Linked DNA regions of Homo sapiens: all the other regions are linked to region 3. The links are contacts of gene promoters, found by promoter capture Hi-C in blood cells and fetal thymus (Javierre and others, 2016). All regions are on one chromosome and are shown on one strand. Each heading gives the region's core, a stretch centred on a gene start or on the middle of the fragment in contact. The rest is flanking DNA. Distances are from core to core; before and after follow the strand shown.

Region 1 (3,766 bases), core at 613-3,112, 740 kb before region 3:
ATATATAACCATACCTGTAATTTCCTAATAGCTGTGTTAAAAAATAAAATGAAACAGTTGAAATTGACTATATTTTATATAACCCAATATAGCAAAAACTATTTTCATTTCAACTTCTAATCAATATGAAGATTGTTGATGAAATATTTTAGGTTTTTTGTATCAACTCTTCAAAATCTCATGACTAGTTTAAATTCACAGCACATAGGAATCTGGATTACCCCCATTTCAAGTGCTCAGTAGTCTCATGTGGCTAGTAGATACTGAATTAGGCAGAGTTGTGTTAGAAGATAAAATTGGAAGCCTTTGCTGTGATATAATTTGTAGCTATTCTAAACATTCATGTTTACTTTTACTTACTGAAACTTGGTAAACCTTTAATTTTCCCATTTTAAATCCAAACCCTCATTCACAGGTTGGCCACCTCACAGAACACTCCGTGGTCATCGGAACAAAGTCACATGTTTGCTATATCCTCATCAGGTCTCAGCTCGGTATGATCAAAGATACCTGATATCTGGAGGTGTGGATTTTTCAGTCATAATTTGGGACATATTTTCTGGAGAAATGAAACATATCTTCTGTGTTCATGGTGGTGAGATTACTCAACTTCTAGTTCCACCTGAAAACTGTAGTGTAAGTTGATTTATATAAAAGATTATTTCACTATGGTAGAGCCAAGTTATATTACTATCAGGAATGTAAATGGAATCTAGACTAACTTAAAGGAAGTGTGACAAGATAATTAAGAAAACCCTTTCAATTTTAAAACTAAAATAATAGTAACATTTAGGCAAAGTTACGGCCACTAACTATTGGGGCACATAGAAACAGAAGAGAGACATAGTGTTTTTTTACTAGCTTCAAAATGGTCTGGCTTCTTTCTGAAACATAGCAGCAGTTGAGAAAATGTTTATTGAATGATGTTTCAATTTTACATTTTAAAATAATTTAAGTATGCCTGAAGACATTGTACAATCTCATTATTTTTGGGTCCATCTGAGCAAAGACAATGAATATATATGTTGGTAAAGGCAAAATACTTATCGATAGAGTTCACTTAAATAAAAAATTGTTGTTAACAAGGGAGACAAAGCCTAACAGTCACTGATGATGATTTTGGAAAATTTCATACATACCTTTGTGGAACCAGATTGCTTTCTGATGCATTTTAAGTTAGGCTGTGATGTCTTATAAATAGAAATATGAGATTTTAGGAGGGCTTAGGACTGATAACAGTACTTTTTTTTATTGTTTATTAATCATGGGACTTATTCATGTGATTAGTCATCTTTGTGTGCATAATCACTGTCTCCCAACACTCACTCATTTGTTTGCACATATAGAGACATCGTCTTCTTGTAGACAAGTCATGCTTATCATAATTCATTCACCGTCACCAGCTCTGGTATTACTGAAATTGAAAACAGTCTTACTGGTGTATCTGCTGCAGTATCTACAAGATATCTCATTTCAAAATCTACAAAATTTTTCTTGGCCCTTCTGCTTACTTGCTTAATCTTCCTGATAATTTATTTTATCAACCATGTTCTGCCAGTGCTAGATTTTGTTTGATTTGATATTGGTGGCTTTGTAAGAAATCCTAGTACCAATGTTTCTCATTATTTTTCCTGGCAGATTTGCAAATTTACCTCCTTAATTGTTCTCTTCCTTCTTTTTTATTCCTTTCTTCCAATTAGGTTGTTAATTTCTTATTCACTGTGAAAAACTGCTATGTATTTAACCAATTTTATGTCATATTTTGGTGAAATAGATATTATTGTAATTACATTAATAAATTAAGGTATTGTTACAACCCCTCTCCTAAACTTCATTTTATAGTAGTTATGTCCTATGGTGAAACATGACAATTTTCTTTTCTGAATGCACATTTGGTGAAATATCTAATTTTTCAATGCAAAAATTGATTATTTAGATAATTCTATACTAGTTTAGAACAACCATTTCTGTTTTGATTGATTTTGTGTGTGTGTGAGAGAATAAAATATTTAAAATAATAGAATATTAGATAGAATAAGATATAGTTTTTCTTTAAATTACAAATGTGATTAAAAGTTTGGAATGGGCCAGGTGCGATGGCTCAAGCCTGTAATCCCAGCACTTTGGGAGGCTGAGGCAGGCGTATCACCTGAAGTTGGGAGTTCGAGAACAGCCTGATCAACATGGAGAAACCCCTTCTCTACTAAAATTACAAAAAATTTGCCAGGTGTGATGGTGCATGCCTGTAATCCCAGCTCCTTAGGAGGCTGAGGCAGGAGAATTGCTTGAACCTGGGAGGCAGGGGTTGCAGTGAGCTGAGATCGTACCCTTGCACTCCAACCTGGGCAACAGGAGCGAAACGCTGTTTAAAAAAAAAAAAGTTTGGAATGGCTTACACAAGGTCATGCTCTCTATTTGAATATGTTAATTATACATTTTTTTAGCTTATATATTCCCTTGTGTTTTTTAAACAAATTTCTTTTAAAAAATTTCAAGTGGGCAGGGCATGGTGGCTCATGCCTGTAATCCCAGCACTTTGGGAGGCTGAGAGGGGCGGATCACGAGGTCAGGAGATCAAGACCATCCTGGCTGACACGGTGAAACCCCGTCTCTACTAAAACTACAAAAAATTAGCTGGGCATGGTGGCAGGCGCCTGTAGTCCCAGCTACTTGGGAGGCTGAGGCAGGAGAATGGCGTGAACCCAGGAGGTGGAGCTTGCAGTGAGCTGAGATTGCACCACTGCACTCCAGCCTGGGTGACAGAGCAAGACTCTGTCTCAAAAAAAAAAAAAAAAATTCAGATTGGTATTTAAAATAATAAAATGTTTTTGACTATTTGTATTTAAAAATAAAATGTAGTGAATAAAATACTAATAGACATATATGCAACTAAACGGAGAATGGGCTCGCTACTAAACTTGGACAAGCCAAAAGCGGTAGTTGGCCTGGAGAATATGAGGAAAAATGATCTAGACAGGGAAGTCTAGTACTTGAAAAATAATGTATTTGCAATTTGTAATTTAGTTATTACATGCTTAACAATAGAAATTTTCTTGGGTGGGAGGACGGAGAGGATTGGGAAAAACAACTAATGGGTACTGGGCTTAATACTTGGGTGATGCAATAATCTGTACAACAAACCCCCATGACACAAATTTACCTGTATAACAAACCTGTGCATGTACCCCTGAACTTAAAATGAAAGTTAAATTTTAAAAAATTGAAATTATAAAAAGGAAAAAAAAGAAATTTTAAAATTCTTATTCAAAAGTCCTGATAAAGACAAAGATACTTGATTTTAGCTGTGGGGTAATTTAGCAAATAAATAATGACTGCCTAGTTAATAACCTGTTCAGTTAGCTGGTTAGGTGGTTTTATGCACATCAGCAAGTATGTTTAAAGATCAAAGAGCCTAATTGCTTAATAAAAAGCAGAGTTTGATGTTTGCTAAATGTTTAGAAAATGTGTGGCTGAGATTAGAGTTTGCTACATCATATACTGATTCTAATGCTTGAATAGTCCCTCTCATAAATTGACCCAGTGTCCTGTTCTTTTTAGCAGAATATATTTTTATTTTTGTTTAAACGTTTTGATTGGGCAATAGTAGTTGAGATAGTTGATCAGCTAATTGTAGTTGAAAGATTATAAATATTTACCAAAAGTAATGATTAGAGATAAATGCTGAAGAGTTTGTCATCTGTTTTGTTTATTAGAATAGTTTTGGGTTTTAGGTGAATTCAGGTGGAAGTTGAGTTTGGACTTCTTG
Region 2 (4,250 bases), core at 111-2,610, 700 kb before region 3:
GCATTGGATCGTTGTGTGATGGGGATAACAGCAGTTGAGATTCTAAACGCTTGTGATGAAGCTGTTCCTGCTGCTGTTGATTCACTTAGTCATCCAGCAGTCAACCTAAAACAAGCTATGACGAGACGTAGTCTTGCTGCTCTTAAAAATATGGCCCATCATAAGCTACAAACCCTTGCAACTAACCTCTTGGCTTCTGAGGCATCTGACAAGGTAAGTTTTATATGTGGGCCCATGAAGTGTGTAGACCCCATTTAACTTCATTTAGTAACATGGCTTTGGCATATCTTAGAAAATAATTTTTGAGAAATGACCCTTGAAAAATAAACTTTTGATTTTCATTTAGGTTTATCCAACATGGTTTGAGTTTTTCAAGTACTTGGCATTTTGGAAAAGTATATTATTCTTACCATTCAAATATTTTTAAATTCTTCCGACTGAATTAAGTGACTTTAGTTTCTGAAATTAGGGCAAACCAACTGTATATAATCTGTCTTACTTTTTGGTAGTCTTTCTGTTGAAAGATTGAGCACTAGCTAATGTCCTAAGGAGGGAAAAAAGTAATTTAGGTACAATTAAGATGTCTGTAATTGTGATGTATCATTTGTTTTAAAATTAGGTTCTGATTTTAGTAAGGTTAAGCGATTGTAAAGATTTAAGAAAATGTTTCAGAATACGTATGATGGTGTTGCAGAAGTACTGAAATTTTTCTGAGACCCAAGCTCAAACACACTTTCCTTACTGACACTTAATAAAGTATAAGTTACTTCTTCAGTTAACAGAAGATGATCCTATTAAAAAAACCAATCCCAATTCATGAATTGGTTACTTATCTTTAGTTTTGTAGAGTCTAGCCACTGTTTGGTCTGTGGTATTTGTGTCATGTGGTATAATTAGCACTAGTTTGTCTCTAGTAATGGATAAATCAAACCTAGAGACAATCTCAATATTTCATCTCAATCACTACTTAAAATTCTAGTTCCATCTAAATATTCATTAGAGTTATTAATGAATAGGCACAAATACTTTTAATTTTAGTCTCTCCTTGATTTTCATTTTTTTAAATGGTTAGACATGTGAATAAATAGTAAAGGGGTTGAAAGGCTCATCTGCAGACTTGAAAATTAACCATGAGTTCGTGCGTGCTGATGATACATGAAATACTGTAGGCAGTTCCACTGACCCACATCCTCCAGTAGTTCGCAGTAATGTCACCCTTTGATCATTATTTCTTCCCTCAAGATATAAATGTTTTATCAGCTATGTTGTATTGTATATTTCAACAACTGGAACTGTGAAATCATTCTACATTTTTCCTCTGTGCTTTCAGTAGCAAACCCTAAAGTTTGTGAAGAAATCACAGCTGAAAGCATTGGCCATACCTTCAGTTACTTCCAAGGAATCTTGTAGCTGTCTCTAGGAATTCAGTGTTCATAGCACATTTTCTGACATGATATGTAATTTGATTTTGAGCAAATTTATAAAACAATATGTTTAAGAGCATGCATGCATGTGGTGTAACTCCCAGATATATTCTTTTTCTTGATGGTATCCCCTAGAAGTAAAAATTTGGAAAAATAATTATATAACTTGAAAATTAAAGAAAAATAAGTGGTACAGTAACAGTTATGAATGGCTTTTGTAAGTGGTCGTGGTCCATTATGTGATTTTTACAATCTTGTTTGTCCCTGTTTTAATAGCGTATTTTATAGCGCAATTAGTGATAAAAGCACCAGATATCAGAGACACTACACTTATGTATTGTAAAATATATTGCTTGTGAACCTCCTTAGTCTTGTAGCAGTGGTAATTGTTGCCTGGCCTACAAGGAAAACAATTATAGAAGGGAGGAAAAAGGCTTAGGAAGCTGAAGCTGCAGGAGGATAATCACTTTATAAAAAATGTATGTTGGCTGGACCATTAGGGATTTCTCTAACTATTTTCTCATGTTGAGTTTGAGGTTCCTTCTGAAGAGAATATTTAAAGAGCTGTCCTCTGGATAGCTTTCTAACCTCAGGAGAAATAAACCCACCCAAAGTAAAAAACAAACAACTAAGAGCTTCTCAATGGTACAGGACTTACTCTAGGATATTGGATCTAATTTTTTACATGAGTCTTTCAATGGAAAGCAAAGCCTGTATTGGGATACTCTATAGAAAGTGCTGCTTTTTGTCTTGGTAACATAGTGTTAGCAATCAGGGCTATATGGAAGTAACAGATATTTTATTTTGCTAATTATGTTAATTATACTGGACATTGAAAACTTCACAAAGATGGAGAATTTACTATCCTGTGATTTTTTTCTCACAGTAGAAGATCAAGAGGGTATTAAGTAAAATACTTTATTACTGTGAAGGAGTCTTTTGTAAGATTGTGTATATTTGAAACCCTTTGCATTTCTCTTATGACATGTATTTTTTTCTTTATATTATGATAACTTATATATTTATCTAATTCTCCCTACTGAAATTCAGTCTTTTTGAGAGCAGGGATTTTTGACTTATTTATCTCTGTGCTTTTCCATGACATCTAGCAGCAGCTGCTGTGCAATAACTATGTGTTGAATTGGATGATGTGGAACAGAAAGTGCAGAGAGCCTTTTCTTTCGCTGTTTTGCCCTTGTCTTTGCCATTCCCTCATAACTGATTGTCTTAAGACCCCTGCATTGCAGCCTCAAGGCTGTGTTCATGAACCTTTAGATGTGGAGCATTCATTAGTAACTTGCATTCTTCCTTTGCAAAAGGAAGTTTTGCTCAGTTTTGCATTCTTCCTTTGGTTTTGGTGAGTGAAGTTGTGTAGATATAACTCATTCTCCTTCCTTGCCTTCTCTGTATTATCAGTGTTCTAACCCATCCTGGACTTATCTCAGCTTTATCCTTTCCTTTATTCCCGTTCCTTTTGACTGTAGACCATGATAACTCATTTGTGACAGATTGACATTTTGGGATGGGTAATTCTTTCTTGTTGGAGGACTGGAGTCTATATAGTAGGATGCTGAGCATCATTTCTGTCTTCTACCTACATCACATCATGCTGGTAGTAGCCTCCTCTTTCCAGTTGTGACAATCAGATGTCTTTAGACGTTGTCAAATTTCCCTTAAGAGGCAAAAATTGCCCCCGGTTTAAAACCACTGCTTTTGAAAAAAAAAAAAAAAAAGCTTGAAATAGCAGGAATCCTGCATCCTCTATCCTATCCCTCTTTTCCCTTCCCTACCCTTGTTTTTTAATCTCACTCTTCCTCAGGACAGTGAAGCCATTACCAACCCTTAGCCCCTCCACCCATTTTGGCAGAGTTAGTTCTTACATTCTTTTTATGCTCACATTTTTTTTGTTCATACGTTTCCCAAAACACTTTTCCCTTTGTATGGGGTATTTTTTGTTCTTTATATTTGTCTTCCCTACTAGATTTTAAACTTCTTCAGGACAGCAGTTCAGTTTTTCATCTTTTTATTTCCAATACTCAATGTAGTATAACTATATTGCATTGTAGTATAACTACACATAGAGTATGGTACATACTAGTGAAAAATGATAATTGCTCAAGCAATTTAGTAGGAAGTTAGTTTGAGGTGTCAATTAGAATTGTGTCATAGAAGAACTTGAATGCAAAGCTGAGGATGTAATTTAATGGGTGCTGACATGATGCTGAATACTTTTAAAAGGATACTTTTGATTGCTTAAGAAATATTTTGTCATATCTAACATTTTAATGTAAGACACTTACAAATATTGATTTGGGAAATGAATTGTGAGGTTACTGGAATGATAAAGTGAGAGGTCATGGGGACTGGAAATAGGATTAGGCCCTGGAAATGTGGAAAAGGGGATGGTTAGGAAGCTGTTGCATAAGTTGAATAAATAGGACTTCACTCTGGTCTTGAAGAGTTTGATGTTCAAGATTATTTCAGAAACCAAAACCCGGCTGAGGGGAGAATGGCAGTGCTATTAACAAGAATGTACAGGCCATGGAATAGGCTTTGAGGATGATTGTAATAGGAGACGTGCATCTTATTGGTAGTGTTAGGAGTTGGGGTGTGTGCAAGTCAGCAAAATACCTTTGAGAAATAAGTGACATGATGGTGAGATAAAATGGAGATGGTATTATTTTTTTCCTAAATAGATGCTGGAGTGTAGAGCCTGACTTAGACTGCAGTTCACATTTTTGGGTGCCTGCTGTCATTTGATTTTTTTCAGATATGCTCTTTTCCTGAATTGTCACTGCAAATAGGTGAGGTAGTTCTTATTGTCCC
Region 3 (3,954 bases), core at 476-2,975:
GTTGATCTATGAATAACGTCACTGTACATTCATGTGACAGGGTGGGGGTGGGGGTGTTGCTCTGAAGCAAGAAGAGAGAGGAGGGCGGCAGAAAAGGTCACTGAGACTAAGAACTGTTTTCCAAATGAATCAAACCTTTCTCTGGCACCAAGAAGGGACATACAGTATTCCGAGCTCTGCCCTTGTTTTCTTATCAAGTTTTCTCTAACAGCTGGAAGTGGTTGAAGGGGGCTGTCTTAAGGAGACCCCCTGCTCTTCTTTTGACAGCTGATCAAAAGAAAATAGGTCACGCTTCTCAAACTTATGTCCACCCTGTCCTTAATTACTGTCTCTTTAAACAAAGGCAACATCTGCGCAACCTCAGCTAGCTTGAATCTTCGGAGGCAAACAGAGCGCAACCTGCTTTGGAAGAATCTTGTTACGTTTAAGGCTTTATGCCGGGTGTTGGCCTCTCTGTCTTCAACTACCCCTCCACCCCGACTCGGACTGCAGAAATCTCCAACTCTCTGTCCCCCAGTTCCACTCCCACCTCCAGACCTGGGGTTGCCAAACAACGGAAATTCTAGGAAGACGTAGGTGCGGTTTTTAAAGCCTTGGCTTGTGAGCGTTCTCAGGCTGGCCGGGGCGCTGGTCTTTTCAGAAACAAGGTTTGAATATGCAGGTGTCAGCCAGGATTCCTTGTCGTCTGCCCACCGCCGTTTCTCTCCCGGGATTTGAGAGAAGCGGGAGTGTGTGTGTGTGTGTGTGTGTGTGTGTGTGCGCGTGTGTGTGTCTCGTGTTAGGAGAAAGGTCCGTGGTTGCCGTCTCAGCTGGTTTGCTTACTCTCTGCCCCCAGGAGAAGTTTGCTCACTTGGGACACCAGCGACCCTCCTCACCTCCACCTCACCGGTTCTACACTCTCCCCACTTCTTTCCAAGTCGCTGATGCAGAAAGCACTTGGTCACCTTGAAACGGCAGCTCCCGGAATTCTAGTTTTGTTTTGCAATCTAGCAGGGCTCTTCGGAAGCCTCATAACTGAGATTTATGGGCTCACCGGGTAATTAAATGATGTTATTGTGTTAACTTTGCATGCATTACTGCTGCCCGCGCCGCCCGTGGGCCGCCGGCCGGCCGCAGCTCGCTGGCGACGAGGGCACTACAGTTGCTCTGACCGCGTAGATTATGCATGTCCCGGCCTCGGGAATTTACCATGCATTAGAATACATTAGCGCCTGCATTTTAAAAGGCTAAACTATTGGCTCCCAGCTAGGGACTCTCGGTAAGTGGCTTGTTAGTGACGAGTGTTTGTCTATACTGGCACATAGCGGAGTCTTTTGCTCCCGGCTTACTCGCCTCCAGGAAAGCTTTGGGGTGAGGCGAAGGCGATTGAAGCAATGCCCCTTCCCCCAGATCGCAGCTGCTCAGGGGGGACACAGCACGGCATCTTTCACCGAATCTCTCTCGCTCGCTCGCACTCCAGCCTCCCTCTCCCCAGCGACCCCCCCACCTTCTCCTCCCTCCCTCTCCTTGACGTTTGATTCCAGTAGCAAAGGAGGTAAAAAAGGCACCGAGCCGTCAGCCAAACCTGAAAAGTGCGGCCCCGCCCCCTCCACAGCCACTGGTAGCTTCCCGTGGAAGGCCCGCCTCCCGGGGCAGCTGCGGCCTCGGAGTGGTTGCGCTTGGCGCCCGTCGGGCGTGGCCCCGCCCCAGGTCCGGGAGGGTAGGTTGGCTGCCCCGGCGAGCGGCAGAGCCCTTCTGGACAGCTCCCGCTCACCCAAACAGAAGACGTCGGCGCCGGAGCGGGCTCGGACATGGCGAGGCTGCGAGCCGGCCCGAGCGGCGGGGCCCGGTGATCCCTCCCTCCCTCCCCGTCCCCTCCCCTCTCCCGCACGCACGCCCCGTCCGCCCCCACCCCGCCCCCACCCCGGGCGAGCCCGCCCGCAGCCCGGGGCGCACACCCGCACGCGCACTCCTCTCCACTCACTCCCGCGCCCGCCCCCACTCCCGCAGCCGAGCCCCGCCACGCGCGCCTTGCCCGCCCGCCGGCCGCCCCCGCCGCCCCCGCCGCCCCCGGGCCCTGATGGACTGAATGAAGGCTGCCTACACCGCCTATCGATGCCTCACCAAAGACCTAGAAGGCTGCGCCATGAACCCGGAGCTGACAATGGAAAGTCTGGGCACTTTGCACGGGCCGGCCGGCGGCGGCAGTGGCGGGGGCGGCGGCGGGGGCGGCGGGGGCGGCGGCGGGGGCCCGGGCCATGAGCAGGAGCTGCTGGCCAGCCCCAGCCCCCACCACGCGGGCCGCGGCGCCGCTGGCTCGCTGCGGGGCCCTCCGCCGCCTCCAACCGCGCACCAGGAGCTGGGCACGGCGGCAGCGGCGGCAGCGGCGGCGTCGCGCTCGGCCATGGTCACCAGCATGGCCTCGATCCTGGACGGCGGCGACTACCGGCCCGAGCTCTCCATCCCGCTGCACCACGCCATGAGCATGTCCTGCGACTCGTCTCCGCCTGGCATGGGCATGAGCAACACCTACACCACGCTGACACCGCTCCAGCCGCTGCCACCCATCTCCACCGTGTCTGACAAGTTCCACCACCCTCACCCGCACCACCATCCGCACCACCACCACCACCACCACCACCAGCGCCTGTCCGGCAACGTCAGCGGCAGCTTCACCCTCATGCGCGACGAGCGCGGGCTCCCGGCCATGAACAACCTCTACAGTCCCTACAAGGAGATGCCCGGCATGAGCCAGAGCCTGTCCCCGCTGGCCGCCACGCCGCTGGGCAACGGGCTAGGCGGCCTCCACAACGCGCAGCAGAGTCTGCCCAACTACGGTCCGCCGGGCCACGACAAAATGCTCAGCCCCAACTTCGACGCGCACCACACTGCCATGCTGACCCGCGGTGAGCAACACCTGTCCCGCGGCCTGGGCACCCCACCTGCGGCCATGATGTCGCACCTGAACGGCCTGCACCACCCGGGCCACACTCAGTCTCACGGGCCGGTGCTGGCACCCAGTCGCGAGCGGCCACCCTCGTCCTCATCGGGCTCGCAGGTGGCCACGTCGGGCCAGCTGGAAGAAATCAACACCAAAGAGGTGGCCCAGCGCATCACAGCGGAGCTGAAGCGCTACAGTATCCCCCAGGCGATCTTTGCGCAGAGGGTGCTGTGCCGGTCTCAGGGGACTCTCTCCGACCTGCTCCGGAATCCAAAACCGTGGAGTAAACTCAAATCTGGCAGGGAGACCTTCCGCAGGATGTGGAAGTGGCTTCAGGAGCCCGAGTTCCAGCGCATGTCCGCCTTACGCCTGGCAGGTAAGGCCGGGGCTAGCCAGGGGCCAGGCTGCTGGGAAGAGGGCTCCGGGTCCGGTGCTTGTGGCCCAAGTCTGCGCGCCGAGTCACTTCTCTTGATTCTTTCCTTCTCTTTCCTATACACGTCCTCTTTCTTCTCGTTTTTATTTCTTCTTCCATTTTCTCTTTCTCTTCCGCTCTTCCCCTACTTTCCCTTCTCCCTTTTCTTTTTCTTTCTTACTCTCTCCTTGTCCCTGAGCTTTCATTGACCGACCCCCCCCCATTTCATTCGCCCTCCCCTCAATGTGCCAACCTTTGCCCTATTTCCGATCTTCCCAGGTACTGGGAGGCGGGATGGGGGTGTGCGTTTTCCTCTAGGAGCCCTGTCTTTCCAAGACCCACAGAAACCAGGACCTGCCCTTATTCAAAACCCCATGCACTTCAAGTCTCTTTTAGACAACACATTTCAATTTTCCGGGCTGACTAGTCTCCCTGTGCAGAGGCAGTTGAGAGGCTTTGCTCTGCAGAGGGAAAAGAGCTCTCTACTCTCCCACCCACCATATAGGCAAACTTATTTGGTCATTGGCTGAAGGCACAGCCTTGCCCCCGCGGGGAACCGGCGGCCAGGATACAACAGCGCTCCTGGAGCCCATCTCTGGCCTTGGCGTTGGCGCAGGGACTT
Region 4 (3,697 bases), core at 178-2,677, 630 kb before region 3:
TTTTCTTCACCTAGTGTCATTTCTTTGTGAATTCTTATACATATTTCAAGACCCAATTCAAATATTTCCTTCTTGTGAAATTGTCTTTGACATGTATTTCTTCCTCTTCCCATCCTAAGAAGAGCTGATTTTTCTCCATATGTGAACTATTTTCACTTATTCATTGATAAATCTGTATTTTCATTATGGCTATTAGATTCTCTAGTGTAAAGTCCTTGTGTTTCCCTACCTTCATTTTTATTTTCTTTGCCTAGAATAACTATCATTCAAAAAAGTTAAATGAATAAATTTTTCCTCCTGCCTTCGCCATGCTCAGAGAACAGCCCTACCATTCTGTGTTTTAACTGAAAACTACTCTTGATTTTCTCTCCATTAAGTACTGTCTTTAAAAAAATATATAGATCAGTGATTTTCAGACTTTTAGAAAAGCGGTATCCTTTCTTCAAATGAAAACTTCTGTAAAACATGTGGACATGTGTGTGCATGCATGCATACACACAACCACATAGAGGTAAGGATGGGGAGGGTAGAGGTCTCCCTTCTGGCACTTCTAAGGAAGTACTAGGGCTCCCAGTAGCACGGTTTTACATCATTGGCCTCATTGCTACCTTCATTCACCGAGTCCCTCCAAGTCATTCTTTACATTGCTACAGGAGAGCCCTTTCTAAACACAAATAAAATTAAGATATTTTCTGTGCTTAAATTTATTTAATGACTCCCTCAGTTTACATATAAACTTTTTGGAAGCTAAGGGTATGTCTTTGTACTTTTGTGTCTCTAATCTCTGGTATAGGGCTTGTTGCATAATAGCCTGGAGGCTCCTTGAGTGTTTAGTATAATGAGGGAACATTGCACTGTTTCCTATACCATTGCACAGTTATTATACCTATTGCACGGTTATGTTTACCATTTTAATGGCTTGCTTTACTTATATTGGCAATGCCAGCCTCTCTGTTACTCAGATCTATCCCACCCTTCATGCCCAATACACATCTTAACATCCCCTTTTTAAAGCCATCAACTTCAGCAGCCTTCATCAGTTTCCCTTTGATTTCCAAAGCAGCTTGCTGTTATAAATAACAACAGGTGTAAGGTACTGAATGTAGTGAGTGCACTGTTTTTGTCACCACTTGATGATGTAACCTCTGCCTAGGTGATCCTAGCCAAAAAAAAAAAAAAAAAAAATTCATGAAGGATTTCAAAGGTACCTTCTTATCTAAAAGAACATACTTTAAGCACAGTTCTGAGATATGTAATTCTGCTTATAGTTTGAGTTTCTAAATCAGCCAGAGGTTATAATGTTAAGCTTATGCTTTAGTACAGTTGTGTATCAAAACGGTTTTTTCTTTGTTTCATAACAATTTATAGGTTGAACAACATAGTCTTTGGTTTTTTTGTGTCTTTTGAAACCAAAATTGGTGTTGTCAGCTCATATCCTGCAAATCTCACAGAAATTTTTGAAAAAATACATGCAGTAATTAGAAGCATCAGGCTTGATTTTTTAAATGATGGATCAATTTTTAGATATTTTTGGGAAAGAGAAATAATAAAGCTTTATGCTATCCCATTAATATTCTATTGATACAGTACACTTCCTGTTTTCTATTTTACTTACATATTTTTCAGTAAATGTTTCCCTTTTGTTGCTTTCAGAATTGCTAATAATTACATTTTATATGAGAGCAGTTTTCTAAAAAAAAAAAATACTAGTTAGGAAAAAATGTATTTCATTTGTTCATAAACAAAGATCAAAACTCGTGTTACCAAATAATTCTTACATTGTTATTTGAGCTTGAAGACATTCTGCTTATTTTAAATTATATTTTTATTTCTCTAATTACTTTGTGGACTTTAATAAACTAACTTTATTGTTTTTGATAAATTGAAGTGGTCTTTATTCAGAATAAGGGATAAATTTCTTACAGAAAGGCTTTTCTACAAGACATCTATACTGTTAATTTCATATTTTTGATGTTATTGCAGAAGGAAAAGTGGATACTGTGTCTTTAATGGAAAGCAAAAGGTTATCTTTCTATGGCCTTTGTGTGTATGTGCTGATGTGGATGTAGGCAGCCAGACAGGCAATGTGTGCAGAGAGACTAGGGAACCGGCTGTGGATCGATAGAAGTGGTGTGAAGTGAATTAATGTGAGGCAGGCTGTCTGTCTGTCATAAGGATTGTGGGGAATGTGGGGCAGTGTTGGTCAGTCACTGCAGAGATCTGCTTCCAATAAATTCAGGCCTTCTGCCTGAAAAGAAACTGTAGATACTCACATACTCCCTTATTGTTAAATTTTACCTCATTCACAGTAAATGTTCATATCAAATTATTGCCTCCAGTGTACTTTAATTGGACGACTGGAAAACCACAGTTGTGAGGAACTGATGAAATAAAAATATCTGCCATTCTTTTGGATCTATTTTTCAATCTCAGTGGAAATCTATATTACTGAGAATGAGAAATAGAATTTTTGTTAATATTTATAAATATCTTTCTCCATTCTTAGTCCTAGCAGTGTTTATCACTACCATCTAATCTTCAATAAAAAAATGAAACTATAATGAACTGAAGTGGTTTTATATTTCCATATTGGTTAAAGTGCTGGTTTTTACATGTTACTATATTAAAAATTAGTATTTTGTTCTCGCATTTCATGTTAATCACATGACACTGTAGTCTTGTGAGTTCATGTTATTTATTATTACTCAGATATTGTTAGCCAGTTGGAAAAAAATTCATAAAGGTAATTTACAAGCTTATGAAAGATAATTTTTAGAATACTATACCCAATTTTACTGGTGGGGCTAGTTGAGTGTAGTTTAATTCCATTGATTTTGAAGATGGCATATCCATATTTATATTTTAAAAAACTTCTGAAGTGGCTTAAAAAATATTGCATAAAATTGGGAAGTTTTATGTATATAGATTTTTCGTAATGAAGAGTTATCTAAGCGTTTAGAAATCTAGATGGCGTGAGGATCTCATAGTCTTTCTTGTCCTCTAATTCTCACTTCTACTAGCTACAACCCTCCCACTTCCCTTTTACTGTTGTGTCCAGACTTACTCATACCAGCTTGCTGCCCCACTCCATTCCCCCTCTGCCCCCATTTTCCTCCTGATGCATGATATAAAACTCATTTATTGAGAACTGTTGTTTGGTATAATGTACATTGGTTTTTTATTTTGTGAAATCTGGATTTGGATACTCACTGGTTTTTTACCTGCCTCATGTCTTTCTGTTAATTGTATTTCTTTTTTATTATATCTCTTTACTCTCCTTATTTCCTTATTATTCTTTTTATCATATCTCTTTCCCCAAAGTACCCTTACTGTTATTTTCTAGTATATTTAAATAACGCAATTTGTGCCATGAGATAAAGTATTCAGTATTTATTGAACCTTTATGAGATTTTCATCACTGTCAAATATTTTGGAAATACTCAGAAAGTAAGTAAACCGTAGCTTGTGTGGTATAATTTGACAAATAAGCTCACTTATGTCAAGTACAAAAGAATATACCAAAATATCACCATATAATTAATTGACAATATTTATAACTTTGATATACAAAATACCCTGAAATTTCCATAAATATATTTTCCTAGTGGACTCTTATTTTTTTTTGCAAGGATATTTCATTTTCTTTGGTAGTGGATAGTACACAAAGGCTAAGCTTTTTGTAGCAGGGAGAACTAAA
Region 5 (3,974 bases), core at 1,132-3,631, 670 kb before region 3:
GCATTTATTTAGGTGTTCTTTATCTATCATAACTCATATGGTTTTATGTGTAGAGGTTTTATATATATTTTAGATATATAACATATATATCTAAATATTGGATTTGGATATTAGATTTAAAAATTTTTCTTAACTGGTAATGTTTAGCTATTTTTCATTTCTGTGCCCCAGTATAGAAATGCAGTTGATTTTTGTATACTAATATTGTATCAAGCAATCTTGCTGAATTCACCTATTAATTAAAATAATTTATCTGGGGATTCCTTTGAATGTCAGGGTAATCATATGAGATAACCTTTTCCCAGTTTCAAAGGGAAAACTTTTAAACCTTTCATAATTATGATATTTCCTATATGCTTTTGTAGATGTTAAGAAACTAGCTACCTTTTATTCCTTCTTTGCTAATGTTTATCATCAGTGTATTTGGATTTTATCATACCTTTTCTGTATTGATTGAGATGATTGTATAACTTTTAATTTTCCTCTATTAATGTGGCAAATTTAGAACATAAACCCAATCTTGCATCCTAGAATAAAACCAATTTTGTTTTGATGTATTATTTTCTTATAAATTATTGTATTTGATTTAATATTTTTTATTTAGGAAAACTTTTTTTTTCTGATGTCCTTAGAAGCTTTCAGATTATTCAGGTTACAAAAACTGAGTTGTGGAATGTTTTCTTTTTTTTCTATTTTCATGAAGAGTTTGTATAAGATTGGCAACATTTCTTTCATAAATTCAAACTCTAGATTTAAATTTGCTGGATTTAGATCTAGAGTTTTCTTTGTAGGCAGTTTTTAATTCTGGGTTCAACTTATCTCATTGACTTTTCAGATTTTGTTTCTTTGGTGTCAGTTTTGTTAAGTAGTACATATTTAGGAGTTTCTCTGATTCTAAATTTTCAAATATATTGACATTTGAGATTATAATATTGTCTTTTAATCTCTCTGGTATCTGTAATATGTCCTTGTTTTTATTCCTGATTTTAATAATTTATGTCTTCTCTCTTTTTGCTTCATCAGTCTTACCAGGGGTTTATCAATCTTATTAGTCATTTTAATGACCTCAATTTGACTTTATCCTTTCTAGTGCATATTTTTCCCCACTTCCTTAAATTCTGCTCTTTATTTACATCCTCCTCCATTTTTTGGATTCAGTGTGCTGTTTTTTGTTTTGTTTTGTTTTTTGTTTGCCATCCATATGTCCATTTTGGCGAAATGCCTATTTATATCTTTTGTCCAATTTTTCTTACCTTAGTAAGAATTTTTTTTTTTTTTTACCTTGGGTTGCCTACGAATAAAGTTTTTTTTTTGTTTGTTTGTTTTTTTGTTTTGTTTTGTTTTTGAGATGGAGTCTGGCTCTGTCGCCCAGGCTGGAGTGCAGTGGCGCGATCTCAGCTCACTGCAAGCTCCGCCTCCTGGGTTCATGCTATTCTCCTGCCTCAGCCTCCTGAGTAGCTGGGACTACAGGCGCCCGCACCACGCCCAGCTAATTTTTTGTATTTTTAGTAGAGACAGGGTTTCACCGTGTTAGCCAGGATGGTCTTGAGCTCCTGACCTCGTGATCCTCCCACAGTGCTGGGATTACATGCGTGAGCCACCACGCCTGGCCTTCTTCGATGTTCTTTATCAGGTTGAAAAAGTTCCATTCTATTCTTAGTTTGTCGAGATTTTAAAAATTATGAATAGATGTTAGATTTTATTCAGATGTTTTTTCTGCATCTATTGAAATGATTATTTGATTTTTGTCTTTTATTTTCTTAATAAGACAAAGTATATTGACTTTTAAGTTTTAAAACAACCTTGCAATATAGACCACATTTTGAATTACCAATTTTATAGTTTGTTAGGTACAATTTGCTAAAATTTTGTTAAGGGTGTTCATGTGTAAGTTCATGAGGAAGTTTGGTCTTTAGTTTTCATTTCTATTAATGCCTTTGTCCAGTTTTGCTGATAGGATAATGCTGGCCTCACAGAATGAATTAGGAAGTAGCCCCTTTCCCTGTATTTTCTGGACGGGTGAGTGTAGGTTGATAATTCTTCCATATTTGGTTGATCTAATTCACTAGTGAAAGCCCAGGGGTTTTCTTTATGGGAAGGTTTTTAACTACGGATTTAAAAGTATTATAGATATAGGGCTATTCTGCTTGTTTTCAAAAATGTCTACTTGGGTGAACTTTGATCATTTGTGTCAAATTTATCAGCAAAAAGTTGTGTGTAATCTTTTATTTTGCTTTTACTATCATATTTGTAGGATTTGAAATTATATTCACTCTTTCATTTCTGTTATTCATAATTTATGTTTTTTCCCTTTTTCTTGATCAGTCTGTCTTGTAGTTTAGCAATTTTATGGATCTTTTCAAAGAACTAGCCTTCTATTCATTGATATCTATTATTTTTCTATTTCACTGGTTTTTGATTTGATTATTATTTATTTTTTCTATTTTAAATGTGCTCTTATATTTTTAATTTCTTAAGGTAAAAGCTGAGATCATTGATTTAAAACCTTTCTCCTTTTCTAATATAGGCATTCAATGCTACAAATTTTCCCCTAAGTATTATTTTAGTGGCATTACACACACTTTGCCATATTGTACTTTTAATTTTCCTTTTGATTTTTTTCTTTTACCCATGGATAATTTAGTAATCAGTTAATATAATTTCCAAACACTTGTGGATTTTCCTAGGATCTGTCTGTTACTGGTTTTCATTTTATGGTCAGATACTATATTTTGTGTGGTTTGAATCCTTTGGCATTTGTTTCAATTGATTGTGTTTATATATGGGCCAATAACATTGCGTACATTTATAGTGTACAACATGATGTTTTGATACATGTGTACATTGTGGAATGGCTAAATCTAGCTAATTAACATATCTATGACCTCATATATGTATCATTTTATGTGTGTTGAGAACACTTAAAATTACTCCCTCAGCAATTTTTAAGTATATAATACATTGTTACTAACTATAGTCTCCATGTTATACAATGTGAATCCTTTTGAATTTATTGAGACTTGTTTTATGGCCCAAAATATAGTCTGTCTTGGTAAATATACTGTGTGTACTTCAGAAGAATGTGTATTCTGCTGTTGTTGGGTGGAATATTTTATAACTGTCAGTCAGGTCAAGTTGCCCGTGTTCAAGTTTAGTATATACTTGCTGATTTTTCTGCCTGCTTGCCTTTATCAATTAAATAAGAGTATTGAATCTGCAGCTATAATTATGGGTTTGTTTATTCCTTCTTGCATTTCTATCCCAGTTTTTGCTTCATGTATTTTGAAGCTCTCTTATTAGGTGCATAAACCTTTGGAATTTTTATTTCTTCTTGATTATTTGACCCTCGTCATTATGAAATGACCTTCTTTATCCTTGGTAATGTCCTTTGCTTTGAAATTTACTTTGTTTATAATAATACAGTAATTTCAGCATTTTTGGCTACTGTTAACATAGTATAATCTTTTCTCATCCTTTTACTTTTTACCTATTTGGCTCTTTATATTTAAGATGTGTTTCTTGTGGGCAGCATATAGTGGGTCTTATTTTTTAATCCAATCTGACCTGCTTTTTACTTGAGATGCATAAGCCGTTTACATTTAATGTGATTGTTGATATGGTTAGGTTTGAATCTGTTATCCTACTACCTTATTTTTCTCTTCGTTGCATTTATTTTTTGTTCTTTTTCTTTTTCTGCTGTCTTTTAGACTAAAAAGATTTTTTTTATGATTCCATTTGATCTCCTTTATGGCTTTATAAGCTAATTTTTATTATTTTAGTAGTTTTTTTAGAGTCTGTAGTCTATGTCTTTCCGTTATCACAGTGTACATTCAAGTGCTATTATACTATTTAACATTTAATATAAATGTTAAACCTTATAATATTATATTAGCATTTCTCATCTCCTGGTCTTTATGCTACTGTTGTCCTGCATTTTACTTTTATATATGTTATAAACCTCACAAATTATTCTT
Region 6 (3,988 bases), core at 824-3,323, 610 kb before region 3:
CTTTTTGTGATATATAGAAATTTCTATTTTAATTTTTAATATAGCTTAACTTTTTTGTGTAGTACAAGGAAGTGTTTGAAATGTGAAGAAAATACTTCCTGTTTTCTTAAAGGAGAAACATAGAAATTCAGTATATGAAGATAATTTTATGTATTGTCTAGATAAACTAGAATTTCTACCTCGTGTTCATATAAAACCACACACATAAATACACCAACACATAAACAGTATTAGATCAGAAAGCCTTAAGTTTTGAGTTTCGCATTAACTATTATATATTTCTTTTGCTAAATTTAGACCAAACAGGAAAAAAGCAGAAATACTTAGTTGGATAATAATGTAGATGCTGCATTGGGGTTGGGGGAGGGCAGGTGGGTGGTAGAGGGAAGCCATCCTTGTGAGTGAATAACCTTCAGGATGAACTTAAAGTCTGGCCTTTTGTGAGCTGTGTAATAATAACTCATGGATAAGGGTGAATTACATTAGATTGTGGCACACTATTATATATCTATATATTACATGAATTGCCCTTATAATTGATATCAAACTCATATGACCAAAAGTTGTAATTCACAAAAGTAATGACAACAATGTCTCATAATTCACAGACTCTATGTCATACCTGTGAATGATTGCTTTTACTGTGCAAACCATGTTAAAGGGGAAAAACAGGTTTTAAAATAGATGTCGGGTTCTGAAGACTCCTTCTTCCTGATACTTCATAGTCATTTTTAATACACAAAAAGATAATTAAATTTACTATCATCTGTGACTTTCCCCATGATTTCTTGGTTTCAAGTCACTTGCAAGTGTAAAAGCTTTTGCTCTTAATTTGAAGTTTTAAATTACAAATGAAAGGTAATATTTAATATTTGAAGTGAAGATAGCCATAAACCTGAATGTATTTTCTCCTCACGTGACATACTAGAAAGAGGAGTCCTCACTCATAGGTAGGATAAATATTGAGAGTATTTTCTCATCTTTTTTGTTATAACTATTTATCCTAAATAAAGATGGATGAATTAAATCCAGTGTGAAAGGATTCAGGGAATCAGAACCAGCTACTCTTTCTTTGTTTACCCTTTCTGTAAATGTATTTTTTCAGTGTGGTTAGTACCACTGAAAAGGAGTATAAGGAATATTCAGTTTTATTCAATAAAACATGAATAAGTGCCTTATGTCTTCTATCAGCACATTCTATGGGGGATTTAATAAAGCAAGCCTCTAGATGAGAAGGCAATGATCAAATTTTAGATATGTCTGCATGCAAGTGCACAGATGACATATATGTGCATATTCTCTGTAGCTGGGAGAATTCAGAGTACTGAGCTTAGTTAAGGGTAGGAGTTATGTAAGAGGTAAGCCTGCGCTTATTGCGGAGGTGGAGAGACATGGGAAAAGCTTCCAAGCTCAAGCTGTTAGTTTACAGACTTAGAAATAATTAGCTGTGGAGGGAGTGAGAAGAAGAATGGCCTTGCCCAGAGCAGACAGACTGTAAGGACAGCTTCCTTACTTGTTCATTGTATGCCCTTATTTGAGTTACTTGACTGTGCTAAGCCTCAATTTTCTCACCTGAAATATGAGGATAATAAGGTTATTAGGAGACAGATGAATGGCTACAGAAAATGTGGGACATAATCACAATGGAGCAATGGAGTACTATTCAGCCATAAAAAAGAATGAGACCAATCATTTACAACAACCTAGGTGGAACTGGAGATCATTCTGTTAAGTGAAATAAGGCAGGCACAGAAAGACAAATGTCGCCTGTTCTCATTTATGGGATCTAAAAATCAAAGCAATTGAACTCATGGACCTATGTCCATGAGTAGAAGGAGGGTAGAGAGCCTACCAGAGTCTGGGAAGGGTAGTGGGGGTTGGGGGAGGGGTGGTTAATGGGTACAAAAATAGGTAGAAAGAATGAATAAGACCTATTATTTGGTAGAACAACAGGGTGACCATAGTCAAAATAATTTAGTTGTACATTTAAAGATAAGTAAAAGAGTGTAATTGGATTGTTGATAACATGGAGGATAAATGCTTGAGAAGATGGATATTCCATTTCCCATGATGTGATTATTGCAAATTGTATGCCTGTATTGGAATATCTCATGTACCCCATAAATATATGCACCTACTATATACCCACAAAAATGAAAAATTTAAAAAAAACAGCAAAAAACAAAAAAGATTGTCTTGAGGATTAAATGAGATGATGCATGGAATGTTTTTAGAAGAACTGGAGCATAGTAAGTGCTCAATAAATATGATAGGCTTCTTGCCTCACTTCCCTTCTCATTACCACCATCATCCTTAAGTGATTTGCTTTAATAACATAAATGGTTGATAACTAACATCATTTATAAATCAGTTTTGAGTGACTTAGTGGTGTTTATTCTAGGTAGTTTGACTATCCTTTACAAGGATATAAACTTGCTAGAAACATTTATACTTTACAGATCAAGAACTAAGCCATATCCAAACTACCACTTCAAATTTTCACAAATTTATAAAAGTTGGCTCGTGAAATATTGATAAATTATATTTTCTTAAACACTTTTATATTGATTTCTTTTATCACATTTATTGTCTGAGTTGAATTTGACCATGAAGGTGAATTATTTGACGAAACAGACATAACTGCAGCTTTAAAAGAAAAAGTAGCTGAGGAAGAGTTAATTTGCATATGCATAGCTGAGTTCAGCCAATGGTGAAGTGAGGGGTAAAAAGGAGAGATAATGGAGACAAGCTTTCCGAATGTTCTGATGTGGCCATTTAGTTGACAGTCATTACTAGACTTTAGAAAACATGTTTGAAAAATAATAGACAAGACGGATATGGTCCATGGAGAAAGATACCTTAAAATATTAAATATTAATTAAAATATTTTTTAAAATCTGAAGGTTAAAAGAGGATCTTCACCATACTATCATTAAATAGTCTTGCCGAGAAAGATAAAAGGGGGAATGTTTAATATAACTCTCATACTTGCAAAGGATGGTTTGTCATCAGCTCAGTTTTTAAGAGGGTGTGTTCAAAAACAGAGCACGGTGTACCACAGCAAAATTCAACTAAATGTGAGAGTAGAATATAGACAGTTTTAGAAATGCAGGTTATCAAAAAATGTGCCTCCTATGTCTTAAGAACTAGTGGAGGATGTGTGCCTCCAAAATTGAGAAAGTAAACCAAGAAAGAGGAAGCTGAGGATCTAGTGATCCAGATAATCTTTATATAACCCTTTATATAAACCTTATAAAACCTGTCTTGCCCCTTGATACTTTCAAACCCCCATCTCATTGTTTTAGGCAACATCCCTTAGGAACATGCTGCTCAGGGCTGAGCACAGTGGCTCACATACGAGGATAGCTTCAGACCAGGGGTTCAAGATTAGCCCGCGGCAACATAGTGAAACTTCACCTCTCCAAAAAAAAAAAAAAAAAATTTAGCTGAGTGTGGTGGTGTGCACCTGTAGTCTCAGCTACTTGGGAGGCTGAGACAAAATGATCACTATGATTGCACCACTGCACTGCAGCCTGGGTGACAGAGGGAGGCCTTCTGTAAAAAAAAAAAATAATAAACAAACCCCAACCTCCCCCTACCACACACACACACACAAAATAGGACTGTAACCCTCAGAAACCTAGCCACCCTGAGGGTTACTTGGAAAAGGGAAATCTGAGAGAGAAGCATTTAGGCTGCAAAGTCCAGCACCCCCTCCCCATGTGGAAAGTCTCCGTGACTGTATTGATTTAATAAGTTTCCTTATGTTCTGGATATTTGGCAAGTTCTAACTGTTCCATTTTCCAGGGTAGGCTTGATTTCTGCTCCTGAATCTACTCCCTTGTATAACAGATTTACACTTCTGGGTGAGAATTTGGGGATAAATTACTGAAATATAAAGAGAATCAAGTAAATAACAAAAGACAGTTATTGACTGCAAGGAGGGAAAAAAAGCAGTGCTGATAAAGTTATCAAAAACCACATGATT
Region 7 (4,231 bases), core at 506-3,005, 720 kb before region 3:
TAGGAACAGGTTACATAAGAGGTTTCTGGGAATGGTTTAAAATGAAGTCTTGTAAAATGTGTAAGGTCAGACTGGGTGACCTAGGTGGTATATTCTGACTCTGTCAGATTCTGTGATAGCTTGTGGCATTCTGCTGTTCAGCACTACTGAGGATTATTTACTGGCAAATCCAATGAGCCTTTATTTGGCTTAGGATGATAATTATTTGAAAAATAATAATTGACCTAAGAATATACTTGTTTTGGGCCAGTATTTTCTCCCCTCTCCTTGCTTTTTCATAAAATAAAAATAGAGTTTTTACTTGGTTAAATATTCTGTTGATTGTTGTTAGCCTTTACTTTTAATTGGCATTTGATGTCATTGGTGCATATTGCATGTAGGGCAGAATGAATACAGTGTTTGGAACATGAATTTGAATAGCTTTCACCTGTAAAATACTATCTAAGTTGATAGAATACTTCATCTGTGCTGCATAAGTTCTGTTCCATAACAATACAAATTTTTAAGGGGAATTTTATGTTTACATTCTTTAAGTCAGTTGATAGCAGCGGTTACTGAAGTAGAATAGATGAGACAGTCAATGGAGGTATAGGAAGAAAATCTTAGAACTTTTACTTACTTATTTTTTAATCTTAGGAAATTGAGCTTTATGAACATTTACTAGAAGGAGGGGCATTGGTGGCCTCACCTGTTTTGCATACCAGAGGGACACGCATCATCTCAGGCAAGAGTGGGTGAGCCTCAAGTGGGGTGCCAGAGTTACTTTCATCCTGTTTGTTTCCACTTAAAATGTGCTTGCTTAAGGGATTTGCAGATTATATTATATAGTTCTAAACCTAGCCATCACAAAATGGGCAGGGAAAATATGGATGGGAGATATTTCTAATGAAAAATCTCTTCATCGGCTATATTACAAGTTTTAATGATCATTTGATCAGTCTGGCAGGAGGGCAGCAAAAAATTTATAATTATATGAAATTTGTATTTACATCCACTGTCATTAATAAGGAAACCTTCCTAAGGATCTATTTTGTGACATGAGATATTGGCTAATGTAATGTGAAGTTACTCACATTAATGAGACATTTGAGAAATGTTTATTCTTAAATCTGTTTATTTAAACCTTGAGTCATCCTTTTGAAATATATGTATTTGTGCATCTATTACAATTTAGGTGATACATTGCACAGAATTACACATATACAATTTATAAATATACAACTATTGGGAACACATTTCAAAATTATTTAATGCATGTGTAATAGGAATAATTTGAGGCATAAATATTTTTCAAATAAGTTTAAAGATAAGAGGTTCACATTTTTTAGTTGTTGTATTATTATTTTACTTATACAGTTTAAGTGTTTTATACATTATCTTGTTATAATGCCATTGGTGTTAAATCATGTTTAGGTGACTTTTCGAGGTTGAAATGGAAAAAGATGAAGTAGAATGGAATTAATCAAATTATAGAATGAGTCATTGCAGGTGAAATAGGTGTTCAGTAACCCAGATCTCTAGAATTTAATAATAAAGGAATTGTGCTAATTTAACTCATTTGTGAAGAAGCTGGGTGTAAATCAGGAAGAAATATGAGTTATAAAGTATTCTTTAAGAAGTGCTTTAATAATTTTGAGGACAGATAAGAGGAAACCAAGTTGTGTTTTATCAGAACTTTTAAGTGCTTTTATTTAACAGAAAGCTGAGAATTATTTATTATTACTCTGTTCATTGTTTAAAATTAATATGAAATGTTGCTTGAATAGTCTTTTTTCCTTTTACACTTAAATAAGCTAGACATTTGCTTTGTTTATACCATTAATTTGTTTTCACACAGGCTGCAAAGGTAGCCATCACCTCAGAATTAATTAGTGAAATCAAAATTAATGAGGTTTTACTATATTGGGTCATTTCCACTTCAGGCCAGTTTTCTTTATATGAGTTGGACTAGCATTTTTTTGAAAGAAGAAAAATTAGATTTATTTTAATCCATATTTAAAAAGCACAGAACCATCTTTTCTTGTGAGTTAAGTACCTCTAATAACTATGCTTTCTTGGGCTTAGTAATATTGATTTTTTTTTGTTTTCATTCTTGATTATTTTGGCTACTTCCAGTCTTTCTTATTACAGTAAAGCTAAAGTTAACTCTTTAGATACTTATTATCATTTACAGAGATGGTATATCATGTTTACTTTGGACGAAACTTTTTTTTTTTTTTTTTTGAGATGGAGTCTCACTCCGTCATCCAGGCTAGAGTGCAATGGTGCGATCTCGGTTCAGTGCAACTTCTGCCTCCCAGGTTCAGGCGATTCTCCTCCCTCAGCCTCCCCATCGGCTACTGTTTTGTATTTTTAGTAGAGATGGGCTCTCACCATGTTAGCCAGGCTGGTCTTGAACTTTTGACCTCAGGTGATCCATCCCCCTCGACCTCCCAAAGTGCTGGTATTATAGGTGTGAGCCACTGTGCCCGGCCTGGACCAAACAGTTTTTTGTAGATTGAGCTTGTTATTTGCAAATTTTCATTATTACACTATGTGAAAGGGGAATAAAAGTATTCTTTAAAACATATTTAGTTAAATATATGTGTCAGAGGAGAATGTGTCATGTAGAAATGAAAAGCTAGAATCTTGGTGTTAAAGCTCTTTTTTTTAACCTTCAGAAAATTACATCTCATAATCTACTTTTTAAAGCAGATCCTATGCTCTTATTTAATATTCATTTTGTATGTCCTTTATTTTTACTACATGAGAGTAATAATGTAGAGTTTTTAAGTCTTATGAAGATAGATTACGTTTTCTTAAATCTTTGAAATTATCTGCCTGTGTATCTGTGGGGAGGGTGAAAGTTCTGACAGGGAAACTTCTCATGAGGGGTTGATAATGCGGAAGGTCAAGTTTCTCATAAGAATGAGAAAACCTTTTTTCTTTGCTTAATGGCTCTAGTCCTCTCTCTGCTAAATTACAAACTATGGTAAGGAGATCTTTGACAGAGAGAGAGAGTATGCGTAGCTCAGTGGTTGTCAGCAGCTTTGTGTCACCTCAGATGTTGAGATCTCCAGTAGGGCAGAATTTTAGGAACGCCTAACATAGTAGAGAATATTGGCAAAACTTCATATTGACTCATACTTCATTTTCTCTACTTTTTGGAAAGGAATGACTAGAGTATATGTGAGCATGAATGAAATGACTTTCGACGTGGGGACTAGCAAATAGGTCAGTTAGATGTGTGGCACTAATTAGGGATTAGCTCTTTATAAAGAAGATTTTGGAGAGTTTGGGAGTCTAAGTAGCAGAATCAAAAGTAGGGTCAGTGGCCAGGCGCGGTGGTTCATGCCTGTAGTCCTAGCACTTTGGGAGGCTGAGGCAGGCGGATTGCTTGAGCCCAGGAGTTCAAGACTAGCCTGGGCAACATAGAGGCTCTATTAAATATTATAGATATAAAACAGTAGTGTTGGGTGTGTGAATACTGTGACTGATCAGTGCCTGATGGGAGGACATGAACAGATTAAAAGGAATACTGTTTAGGCATCATTCTTTAAGTTAATTATACCCGTAGAAAAAGATAACTGTTTCTTTGATGAGGGCAATAAATAAAATGACCACTTTTTGGCAGATCGATGTTGCAAAATAGAATATTGTATTTAACCATTAATGTAGCAACCAACCCTTTTTATAAAATGAATAATGGATATATTTGACAAAGTCAGTACTGATGATAAGCTGTAGAAATGCAAAGCATCCATTGTATTGAACTCTCTGTTGCTTTGAATTAGCAACGTACATACGTAGCAGTGTGTGTGTGTGTGTGTGTGTGTGTGTGTGTGTGTATTTACCCAGTTTTGTTCTAACATACCCAAATTTAACTATTTTTGTAGTTTGCCATTTTGTTTTGATTTGTTAATTATAAAACTAATTTGTGTGTGTCAGAATCAACTACCCCTCAGTATTTAATGTCTTTTGCTAAGACATTAAGAATCACATTTCATGTTTCAACTGAATGTTTATCAGGAAAATAAGTAAGCTTAAAACATGCTTAAGAAAATTCTATTAACGTTTTAATGAAGGTTTGTAATACTATTTCTCCGAACTTAGTTTTTTTTTAACTTGTAACATGAGTAAACACCTGTTATGCTGATTATAGTGTGTAATTATAATACACAAAGTACAAATGAAGCTAACAAAGAATAAAAATAAAACAGTTGAATTTAAGAATAAATAGTTAAATATTACT

The links. Contacts are between HindIII fragments. The CHiCAGO score rates a contact against its expected background, and 5 or more counts as called.
Region 1: a fragment that was not itself captured here is called in contact with the fragment with the promoter of ONECUT2 in region 3 in 1 of 17 cell types (megakaryocytes); the score reaches 5.9 in megakaryocytes.
Region 2: a fragment that was not itself captured here is called in contact with the fragment with the promoter of ONECUT2 in region 3 in 1 of 17 cell types (endothelial precursors); the score reaches 5.4 in endothelial precursors.
Region 4: a fragment that was not itself captured here is called in contact with the fragment with the promoter of ONECUT2 in region 3 in 1 of 17 cell types (endothelial precursors); the score reaches 6.0 in endothelial precursors.
Region 5: a fragment that was not itself captured here is called in contact with the fragment with the promoter of ONECUT2 in region 3 in 2 of 17 cell types (endothelial precursors and erythroblasts); the score reaches 10.2 in endothelial precursors.
Region 6: a fragment that was not itself captured here is called in contact with the fragment with the promoter of ONECUT2 in region 3 in 1 of 17 cell types (endothelial precursors); the score reaches 6.0 in endothelial precursors.
Region 7: a fragment that was not itself captured here is called in contact with the fragment with the promoter of ONECUT2 in region 3 in 1 of 17 cell types (endothelial precursors); the score reaches 8.8 in endothelial precursors.

Annotation. Positions count from the first base shown.
Region 1 is chr18:56,695,827-56,699,592 of GRCh38, forward strand. It overlaps WDR7 (WD repeat domain 7), which reads left to right. Exons shown (of 28, transcript NM_015285.3): 12 at 416-636. Among named protein-coding and RNA genes, the nearest start is that of WDR7, 46 kb to the left of the region's middle. The HindIII fragment of the contact is 6,848 bases long and covers 1-3,766 here.
Region 2 is chr18:56,731,385-56,735,634 of GRCh38, forward strand. WDR7 (WD repeat domain 7) reads left to right here. Exons shown (of 28, transcript NM_015285.3): 14 at 1-213. Among named protein-coding and RNA genes, the nearest start is that of WDR7, 82 kb to the left of the region's middle. The HindIII fragment of the contact is 3,592 bases long and covers 1-3,156 here.
Region 3 is chr18:57,433,649-57,437,602 of GRCh38, forward strand. It overlaps ONECUT2 (one cut homeobox 2), which reads left to right and starts at 1,726. Exons shown (of 2, transcript NM_004852.3): 1 at 1,726-3,296. The coding sequence starts at 2,069. RefSeq lists enhancers at 452-1,032, 1,033-1,612, 3,727-3,954 and a silencer at 1,606-1,655. The HindIII fragment of the contact is 9,553 bases long and covers 1,342-3,954 here.
Region 4 is chr18:56,805,983-56,809,679 of GRCh38, forward strand. All of the region lies in intron 19 of WDR7 (WD repeat domain 7), which reads left to right. Among named protein-coding and RNA genes, the nearest start is that of WDR7, 160 kb to the left of the region's middle. The HindIII fragment of the contact is 246 bases long and covers 1,305-1,550 here.
Region 5 is chr18:56,761,634-56,765,607 of GRCh38, forward strand. All of the region lies in intron 16 of WDR7 (WD repeat domain 7), which reads left to right. Among named protein-coding and RNA genes, the nearest start is that of WDR7, 110 kb to the left of the region's middle. The HindIII fragment of the contact is 3,497 bases long and covers 634-3,974 here.
Region 6 is chr18:56,825,698-56,829,685 of GRCh38, forward strand. All of the region lies in intron 20 of WDR7 (WD repeat domain 7), which reads left to right. Among named protein-coding and RNA genes, the nearest start is that of WDR7, 180 kb to the left of the region's middle. The HindIII fragment of the contact is 1,348 bases long and covers 1,400-2,747 here.
Region 7 is chr18:56,712,240-56,716,470 of GRCh38, forward strand. The region is part of intron 12 of WDR7 (WD repeat domain 7); the gene reads left to right. Among named protein-coding and RNA genes, the nearest start is that of WDR7, 63 kb to the left of the region's middle. The HindIII fragment of the contact is 4,528 bases long and covers 1-4,019 here.